2 separate regions of the Homo sapiens genome follow, and region 2 is linked to region 1. The links are contacts of gene promoters, found by promoter capture Hi-C in human tissues and cell types (Jung and others, 2019). All regions are on one chromosome and are shown on one strand. The core of a region is centred on a gene start or on the middle of the fragment in contact, and the rest is flanking DNA. Distances in the headings are between cores, read along the strand shown.

The links. Contacts are between HindIII fragments. The study calls those that stand out against the background at their distance.
Region 2: a contact is called between a fragment that was not itself captured here and the fragment with the promoter of SSH2 in region 1, in 2 of the 25 tissues and cell types used here (adrenal gland and aorta).

Annotation. Positions count from the first base shown.
Region 1 is chr17:29,927,687-29,932,940 of GRCh38, reverse strand. It overlaps SSH2 (slingshot protein phosphatase 2), which reads left to right and starts at 2,713. Exons shown (of 16, transcript NM_001282129.2): 1 at 2,713-3,003. The coding sequence starts at 2,941. It also overlaps a transcript of EFCAB5 not described here. RefSeq lists silencers at 1,531-1,700, 2,434-2,523, 2,674-2,953, 3,464-3,513. The HindIII fragment of the contact is 11,754 bases long and covers 594-5,254 here.
Region 2 is chr17:29,883,828-29,888,643 of GRCh38, reverse strand. All of the region lies in intron 1 of SSH2 (slingshot protein phosphatase 2), which reads left to right. Among named protein-coding and RNA genes, the nearest start is that of SSH2, 44 kb to the left of the region's middle. The HindIII fragment of the contact is 5,413 bases long and covers 1-4,816 here.

The DNA.
Region 1 (5,254 bases), core at 1,464-3,963:
TTCCCCTGAAAATTAATAAATTAACTTCCTGATACAAACAATGTGAATTTTGTCATCCCATAATTCAATTTTGATCAGGATTTTATCACCTTAGATATGTGGAACAAAAATGTTCCACACTTACCTACAGATGAAACATGTCTTGACCACTAATCTACTTCTACTATTAAGAAAAAGAATGATGGCCGGGTGCGGGGGCTCACACCTGTAATCCCAGCACTTTGTGAGGCCAAGGCAGGTGGATCATCTGGGGTCAGGAGTTCGAGACCAGCCTGACCAACATGGTGAAACCCCCATATCTACTAAAAAGACATAAAATTAGCCGGGCGTGGTGGCACATGCCTGTAATCCCAGCTACTCAGGAGGCTGAGACAGGAGAATAGCTTGAACCCGGGAGGTGGAGGTTGCAGTGAGCTGAGATGGTGCCATTGCACTCCAGCCTGGGCAACAAGAGCAAAAATCCGTGTCAAAAAAAAAAAAAAAAAAAAAAAGCCGGGCACAGTGGCTCACATCTGTAATCCTAGCACTTTGGGAGGCCGAGGTGGGCAGATCACTTGAGGACAGGAGTTCGAGACCAGCCTGGCCAATACGGTGAAACCCCGTCCCTACTAAAAATATAAAAACTAGCCGGGTGTGGTGGCGGGCCCCTGTAATCCCAGCTACTCGGGAGGCTGAGGCAGGAGAATTGCTTGAACCCGGGAGGCGGAGGTTGCAGTGAGCCGAGATTGCACCACTGCACTCCAGCCTGGGTGGCAAAGGGAGACTCCGTCTCAAAAAAAAAAAAAAAAAAAGTTATCTTAATTGCATAGAGGGCTTTATTTACAGTTTATTCTGAACTTTACCATACATTATCTCAAGAATCTTGTCAGTTAGGGTTCCATTGTAGAGATAAAGGAATTAAAGCTCAAAAAGTTCAAGCCATTTGCATAAGGTTTTAGAGCTGGAACTAGAAACCAGGTCTTCTGATTCCTATGGTAGTGCTCTTTCTCACTGCAAGGTTAATGGACTTAAGCCTTTCATCTTCCAAAAGAATTTCTGAAGAGTATGTTACCATGAAAAAGTAGAACATCATTGTTGCCCTCCCTGAGTCAGAGAATCAACATACAAGTACTAAGACCTACAGATTTGAATATTACTTTTTCTAGAATGATACTTTGGTTCATAAAGCACATATATTTCATTTATTTGAGTTCATTCAGCTTCTAGCTATGTGTATTTTTTGGCTATGTATCTAGTTTCCTCTTTGGTCTCCCATGCATTGGTTCAAAGTTCTTACTTCTGAAACTTGCCTTCTCTTTTCCTGTTTACTACGGAGCTCTGGGGAAAACACAGTCAGATTGTTTAATCTGTGAACCATACATCTTTGTTTAATTTTGTCTCACAGGCACTCCTGATCACCACCAGGGGGCAAAAGCCTACCAGCTGGCTTCTCTGCACTACACTCTACATAGGACTGTACAGTACAGGGACCCTCAGTGTCTGATTCTTGATGGAACCTCCCTGCTAATTATTTCAACCACAGGGCCCCAGGGAGAGAACAAAGGCTCAGCACAGAGGACTCTTGTGGCGTTTAACCGTACAGCAGCCAGAAAGAGCTCATGACAGCCCTGTCAGTTTAAAAGAAGCAATGAGATCCAAGAGTGTTTGAGTGACAAACAGGAGGGGGTGGGTTTTAATAACTGCAAACTCCCAAGTGTGTGTGTTTTCTACAGCTTTGATATGTACGGTGGTATTTACCAGCTCATCCACTCAAGCTGAGAAATAGCCTTGTCAACTCTCTTTCTTTGTGTAAATAATCAGTGATATTTGCATTGTGCAATTTTTTTCCTTTTTAATCTTGATTTTCCATTACATTCTTTGCTTATGTTCTGCAGACAATTTACCCCTGAGAAAACCATTCCCTTAAAATATCTTTTAATCTACATTTTTACATAGGTCTATGAAAGAATGACATTTAGAGACGAAGGAGAAGAAAGCTTAACGAGCAAATCCTGTTTAATTAAAAGACTGTCTTCACAGCAGGAGGCAAGTGAGAGGTCAATAGCAGGCTGGACCCTCACAACCGGCTTCCTCGGACTCCCAGGCGCGCTCAGCTTCTCTTCTCCTCAGGAATAATGAATAAGTCTTTAGACAGGCAATAGAGGAAGCATGAGGGTACCACAAACCTTTCCAGGGTATCAAACGGAAAATGGTTTTCTTTCCAGAAGTCTCATCATAAAACATAGACGGAAGGGGGGGAAAAGTTAAGAAAAAGCCCCCGAGAGCCGGGGTGAAGGGAGTAAACTGGTCTAGCCCAGTTCTGTCTGCGCCCAGTGAGAGGGTTTGAAACTCCGCGGAGCCCTTTCCCAATAGAAAACGTGTTTGCTTCAGGATTTTCATCTCAGCTGCTTTTTTTTAAGGTTGGTTAAGCTGTGCGCCGCCCCACCTCATAAAATGGTTGTCTCTCAGGAGTGAAGACTCCAGCGGCCCCCCGCCCTGGGACCCCTCACCGGGCTGGCTCCCTTCGGCCCCTTCCCCCACCCCACTCCACAGCACCCAGTGCTGGCAAACCGCGCGATTCCAGCACGAAGGAGGAAACCCAGGAGGGTGCGGCGGCCCGAGGCGCACGCACTCGGCCAGCTTCCGGCAACTCAAGGGTTACGACCAGGCGGCGGCGCGCGCCGAGGGGAGAGGCGGTAGCTGACAGGTGGCGCCTGCGCACTGGGAGCGCTCATTGTGCCCCGCAGCTGCGGAACCGCCCGCCCGCCGCCCGTTCGGAGCGTCAGTCGGCGACAGTCTGGTGGTGGGTGCGGAGTCTGCGGCCGTTCCCGCGGCCTCCTCCTCCTCCCCGTTCCCTTCACCCCCACCCCGCACCCCTTTCCCCATCCCGGCTCCGTCACCCTCCCGTCCCCCACACTCAGGACAAGAATGCCCTGCCCGGAACAACCCAGCAGCGCCTAGATGGCTTTGGTCACGGTCCAGCGGTCACCTACCCCCAGCACCACCTCCAGCCCCTGCGCCTCGGTGAGTCCTTCCTGGCGGCCGCTCCGCTTGCTTCTGTCACTGCGGCTCCGCTTTGCCTCAGCGGGTCCCGCCGAACGCCACTGCGCACGCGCCGCGCCGCTTCCCAGGCCTTGGCACTCGGCTGCCGCGAACCCCCCCACACCCCCATGTTAAAGACTAGCAGCAGGAACTACAAGACGTTGATTTTTGCCCCCATCACCCTGAGCACCTAGCTCCTCACAATCCTCGCCCTGAAATCCCCTGTGGCATGCCTCCCTATGGCTTGAGCACTTCCTTTTGGTAATGAGTCATTCTTGCTTTTCACCCTCCCCCTTCTTTTACCCTCTGTTGCTCTGCTGCAGGGAGGGGACCGTGAGCCTCCTGCGTTGCCCCTTACCCACACCCACATCTCTTACCCACACCATTTCATAGACCTGTTCAGTATTTGCACACTGCACACCCTTCTTCGTACTCGCCAGGGTGTGTGCCTTCCCCTAGTCACTTGCTGGCTTTCTTTTGCTCTGTACTGTTCAGGCTTTGAACTGCCCAACCGTAGTTATTCCTTGGTTTCTCCCGCCTGCCCCCCACCCCAGAGGGTAGCAATGATCTCTGTTTCCTGGACCTCTTACCTTTCCTTTATGAGGTCCCGAAGCATCTGGTGCTGCTTAGTGATCAGTGTCAAATTATTTCCGTCTTACAGATATTTATGCCTTACACTCATTGCTCGTGATCATTCTTGTTCTAAGGTCGTGTTTGTATGGCTCGTTACCTCAGATGCCTATGCCAATAAAGCATGCTCTCAGAAGGAAAATACCCAGTAACCAGCCTTTCCCCGCTGGGCCCGTCTTTGCCTTCTCTCCTCGCCCCACCCCCATTCGTTTACACTCCATTCTCTTAGGCTCCATTTTTGAAAATATTTATTTTTAAAAACAATATATTGCACCAGTGGGGCAAATGGGCTTTAAAAAACCAACATCCAGATGTTTTAGAGAGAAATAAACTGAGTGAAAATGCGAGCAACTGGGAAAACCACCTTGAACTTCCTACAGAACTGTAATTTTAAAAACGGTGTTGGTGGATTTGGTAGTATCAGGTTGCAAAAAAAGGTATTTAATAAACACTGTACCACTTTCCACTGTAAAAAAATCATCAGGTTACCCTTAATATTTGTATGTTAACTGAGGTGTGAGCTTTGATATCCTGAAATTTGCTGGCTTGTCATTTCAGTATAATTTCCTGAATTTCAAAGTTTTGTTGTGTATGGTTGTGGTTTCTTCTTTTCTGAGCTTTAATTGCATTTTGTGTGATGAAATTGACAACTATATCTTAATAAGTGATTTTATTTCAAAGGTTATATATCTTGTGTTGTTTCAGAGAGCAGAACTGGGATTCTTGGTTCAGGGAGGCAGATTTCCAGTGATTGTAAGGAAGAATTTGTAACAGTGGAGTGCACTGCCTTGCAAAATAGTGAGTGCACATTGCTGGAAATATTCAAGCAAAGGCTGGAGAACATTTTGCCTGGGAGGTGGTATAAAGAATTCCTGCAGTGGGGGACTTCTAAGACTATTTCTAATCTAAGATTTTGTGATTTGAGAATACTTGTACTTCAAAGCTGGTAAAACATTTTAGGGTCATCTGAAGACAAGTATCATAGGAATAAATCTTTAATATAATTTATTCTTATGTGTAGTACTTTATGCTAGTTTTTGGAAAGTCATTAACATACCATCAAACCTTCTTAATTCACTCCACTAGTAAACTCTTTGGTTTGTGGTTACTAGGCCTGATTTTGAAGAAATCGATTGAAAGTTAGTAGAGTCATGCAAATAAACTAGAAATCAGTACTATAGTAACATTTATTTTCCTTGGGCACTGTTGAAAATAGCTTATGCTATGATAATATATGTATATCAAGTTGTCATCATACTAATTTACTTGAAGTGAATGATTAGTATACAGTAAGACCGTGTACACTTGATATGACTTCATTAGCCAAAACTTGAGTTACTTTAGAATCTTGAGGTATGTTAATAGTCACTTTTGACATAGGTAATTAAATTGATCATGTAATAAGCTCAGTTGTTGAGCAAAATCACTAATATTTCTATATCTACTAGCCTGGTTATTTCAGTTGTTTATACTTGGCCCTGAATGCAAAGGAATCCTAAGGCTGGTGTAACAATCAGCATCATTAGTATAACTGATAAGCCAGCTTCCTTTCTCTTTAAATTGTCTTCCTATTGGACTTCATCCAGAATTGTGTTCAGCTGAG
Region 2 (4,816 bases), core at 1,350-3,849, 44 kb after region 1:
TTTATACTGACTTTTTCTACTGTTTGTATGGTTAAGGTTGCTGTTAATACTGTAGAAATATAAACCATCAAAATATTTGGTCTATAAAAATTACTAGGTTTTTGCTTTACACTTATACGGATTCCATCCCAGAGAGTTGTCCAGTTTCCAAGCTGTCCATGCTATGGCACTAAGTCTCATACATAAAACTCCAACTCTGCTTTCTTGGGATTTCAGTGGGAAAGAAATACACTGAATGCCTGATTCTCTCCAAATCTCTTTCCAACCATCCAATGGAACCATAAAGATTCCTCAGTCTTAGACTTCGTGATTTTAGGCTTTTTCTCACCACTATCTGTTAGTTTCCATGGTAGAGTCAAGTGCAGTCTCTGTCTCAGCATAGTTTCTTTCTGGGGGTAGGGTGGATGGGACAGGGTCTTACTCTTTCGGTCAGGCTGGAATGCAGTGGCATGATCATGGCTCACTGCAGCCTCAACCTTCTGGGCTCAAGTAATTCTCCTGCCTCAGCCTCCTGAGTAGCTGGGACTACAGGCATGTACCACTATGCCTGGCTAACTTTTAAATTTTTTTGTAGAAATGAGATCTCACTACATTGCCCAGGCTGGTCTCAAACTCCTGGGCTTAAGTGATCCTCCAGTATTGGCCTCCCAAAGTGCTGGGATTGCAGTCATGAGTTACCACGCCTGGCCTCAGCATAGTTTCTTTCATAATCTTCACATATACTAATCTGCAAAAACTATATTGTGTTCTGTAAGGTCATCTTAGTTTTTATAAAAGATAAGGAAATGTTTTCTTCACATTAAATTACATTAAAATAAGCTGAAAGCACTTATTTATTTTCTAAAATTAGTATTTAGTAATAGCATTCCCTAACCTGAACTGCAGAAGACCATTTAAAAGTAGCTCTGTTCCCTCTACTATGATGACCAGGTTTCTGCTCTTCAAAGAGAAAGAAATAAGAACAACCAACATTGGCTTACTCTGTGCTAGGCACTATTCTGAACTCTTTATCAATATGATCTGATTCAGTCCTGACAACCACCCTCTGAAGATGTGTACTATTACCATCCTCATTTTACAGATGAGGAAATAGAGGCACAGATAAGGGGTAGGACAGGATTAGAATCCAGGCAATCCGACTTCAGAGACCCTTGTCTTGAAAGCACGTACCAAAGATTGGCCTGCCTTACCCTTCTTGTCTTAAACTCCAGTCTTGAATTCCATGTCATTTTTGATGGGTCTAGGAAATAGGACCTAGGAAATACACCTAAAGTACTCTGTTTTGTTTTTGTTTATTCTTACTAAAGCTCAAGTTTATCCTCTATTGATCCTCACTAAATAATTTCGTAGTTATAATATCTAAGATGTACAAAAATTTCTATGCCTGCTCCAAGATTTTTTTTTATTGTGTTCTATGCTAATAGCTTGCTTTTATAACACTACTACTGATCTCAAGTATTAAGTTGTTAACAAAATATCCTCTATAGGCATATAATTAAATAAGATAGGTGGCCCCAAAGTAGTATAAGCTGCATGATGTTGAAGAAATTACATTGGCTCGATAGGAGAGCCATTCATCTGGCTTTGCTACCACTTAACTCTGGCTCTGGTCAATCTTTTCATCTTTCTAGTCCTGGTTTTCTTATCCGAGAAAAAAATCTTTAATCTCTAAGGTCCTGTCCAGCTTTAGCACTTAAGGATACCACATACTCTTGGTAAAGTGTCTTCAGAACTGTGTAATAGAAGTTGAAGGAGCGCTATAATTGGTGATTAACATTCAGCCCCTTGTTACTTATGCAACTTCTTCAGCAGGCTTGAATTTCTCCCCAGAAAATGGGTTATTTTCTATCACATCATCAGTCTGCAAATTTTTCAAACTTTTTTTTTTTTTTTTTTTGAGATGGAGTCTTTCTCTGTCGCCCAGGCTGGAGTGCAGTGGCATGATCTTGGCTCACTGCAACCTCCACCGCCTGGGTTCAAGCAATTCTCCTGTCTCAGCCTCCCGAGTAGTTGGGACTACAGGTGCACGCTACCATGCCTGACTAATTTTTGTATTTTTAGTAGAGACAGAGTTTCACCATATTGGTCAGGCTGGTCCCAAACTCCTGACCTCAGGTGGTCCATCCACCTCAGCCTCCCAAAGTGCTGGGATTACAGGTGTGAGCCACGACACCCGGCCATTTTCCAAACTTTTATGCGCTGCTTCTTCTTGAACACTTTGCCACTTAGAAATTTCTTCCACCAGATACCTAAATCATCTCTCTCAAGTTCAAAGTTCCACAGAACTCTATGGCAGGGGCAAAATGCCACCAGTCTCTTTGCTAAAACATAGCAAGAGTCACCTTTGCTCCAGTTCCCAAGTTCCTTATCTCCATCTGAGACCACCTCAGCCTGGACCTTATTGTCCATATCGCTATGAGCATTTTGGTCAAAGCCATTCAACAAGTCTCTAGGAAGTTACAAACTTTCCCATATCTTCCTGTCTTCTGAGCCCTCCAAGTTTCTAGGAAGTTCCAAACTTTCCCACATTTTTCTGTCTTCTTCCGGGTCCTCGAAACTGTTCCAACCTCTGCCTGCTACTCAGTTCCAAAGTTGCTTCCACATTTTCGGGTATCTTTATAGCAGTGCCCCACTACCTGGTACCTATTTACTGTATTAGTCTGTTCTCACGCTGCTAATAAAGACATACCTGAGACTGGGTAATTTATAAAGGAAAGAGTTTTAATGGACTCACAGTTCCACATGGCTGGGGAGGCCTCACAATCATGGTGGAAGAATAAGGAAGAGCAAAAGGACATCTTACATGGCGGCAGGCAAGAGAGCCATGTGCAGGGGAAATCCACTTTATAAAACCATCAGATCTCGTGAGACTTGCTATCACCAGAACAGCACAGGAAAAACCAGCCTCCATGATTCAATTACCTCCCACTGGCTCCCTCCCATCACATGTGGGAATTATGGGAGCTACAATTCAAGATGAGATTTAGGTGGGTACATACCCAAACCATATCAGTAAGCATTATTGATTAAATCATTGGTCATTGGTAACTGACTCAATCTCCACTCCTTCCCTGGTTATGTGATGGAGCTGAAAATTACAAGCTTCTAATCAAGGATTGGTGTTTCTGGTGACTAGCTCCCATCCTAAAGCTATCTAGGGGCCAGCCAAGAGACACTTCCTTAAAACTAAAGATGCTTCTATCACTCGTGTCACTCAGGAAATTCCAAGGGTTTTAGGAGCTCTGTGTCAGGAACTGGGGAAAAAGACCTGATTTTTTTTTTTTTTTTTTTTTTTATGATACAATAGCAAGAAACCCCAGTCTTTGGTTAATAAGAGTTAAAAGTTAGTACCTGCTTGATAGAAAAAAAGCATAATATGCAATAGGTTGCATAAGACTTGGTGAGAAGAAAGAGGAACAGCAAAAGCATGGAAGCCAGAGACACTTGGATAAGTGTAAATGAATTCAGTACTCTAGATAATAAAGCACGTGATGGGAGAAAAAGGGAGGTGCTAGATTAGAGAACTAAGTAGGCAAGAGCCAAGACCTTGGAGGCTTTTTATGCCTTGGTAAGAAATTTAAACTTAAACTTTAGCCCGTACTCAGGCTTTACATTGCATCAGAATAAGTTGAAAAATATGTAAAAATGCAGATTGACCCAGGAATATGCATCTTTACAAGCATCCACAGGTAACCCTGACACAAAAAATACTGCTTTTGGCAGTGAGGAACATAAAAGTTTTATGTAGAGATGTAAGGTCAGAGTTACAATTTAGAGTGGATTGTTGCAGTTGCCAAGTCCTGGAACTAACATAGACTCAAACTAAGGCAGTTGTGGTTGGGATAGACAGGATGAGATAGATTACAGAAATATATAAAAAGTGAAGTGGTAGAGGCCTGATGATGGATTATGAGGTGAAATAAAGATAGAAGACTGGTTAACTCTTGAAGACTTTGAGCTTGGTTGGGCTGAGTAGATGGCAGATGATATTAACAAAAGTACAAGAAGTAAAGCTTTAGTGGGAAGATGAGTTCAGTTGCGGACCAGCTGAGGTATGTAATCCTGTGGAATATGTTAGCAAACATGTTCCAATTAGGCAGTAAGATATCCAAGAAGACCAGTGATGAAAATATCCTAAAGTAATGTTTGTAGTCTCTTGAAGCTGTGAGAGAGATGACATCACTCAAGGAATGCCCATGGAGATAGATGCCAAGGACAGAACCCTGAAAGCCCCCATATGTAAGGGGTAAAAGTAGAAAAGGAGAATTTGACAGACTGAAAGGAGCAATCAGAAAGCAATTTGTGGAAGACCAGTAGAAAATAGTGTGCCAAAAGTTTTAGGAAGAAATCAATGGTCCAATTCTGTCAAATGCAACTGAGAAATTCGATAATACAAAGAAAAGTGTTATGAGTTGGTAGTGTGGAAGCCACCTGTGACTTTGGCTACAGTAGTTTCAGTGGAGAGGTGGGACAGAGAAGCCTGATTGAGGTAAGTTGAAGAGAAAATTGATCAAACAAATTGTGAATATAGGCCAGGTGTAGTGGCTCACACCTGTAATCCCAGCACTTGTGGAAGCCAAGGTGGGAGGATTGCTTGAGCCCAGGAGTTCGAGACCAGCCTGGGCAACATAGTAACCTCTCTCACTCATCATATATATATGTATGTAAAGAAACAGTAAAAATAGAGTATTCATTTTCACAAGAGTTCTCATGAATAGAAGGAGAAAAAGGATTATATCTAGATGGAGGAATGCAAGGTCAAATATTTTTCTTGTTTTTAAAGTATGCAGTAGACTTGAAAATGTTTCTGTGCTAA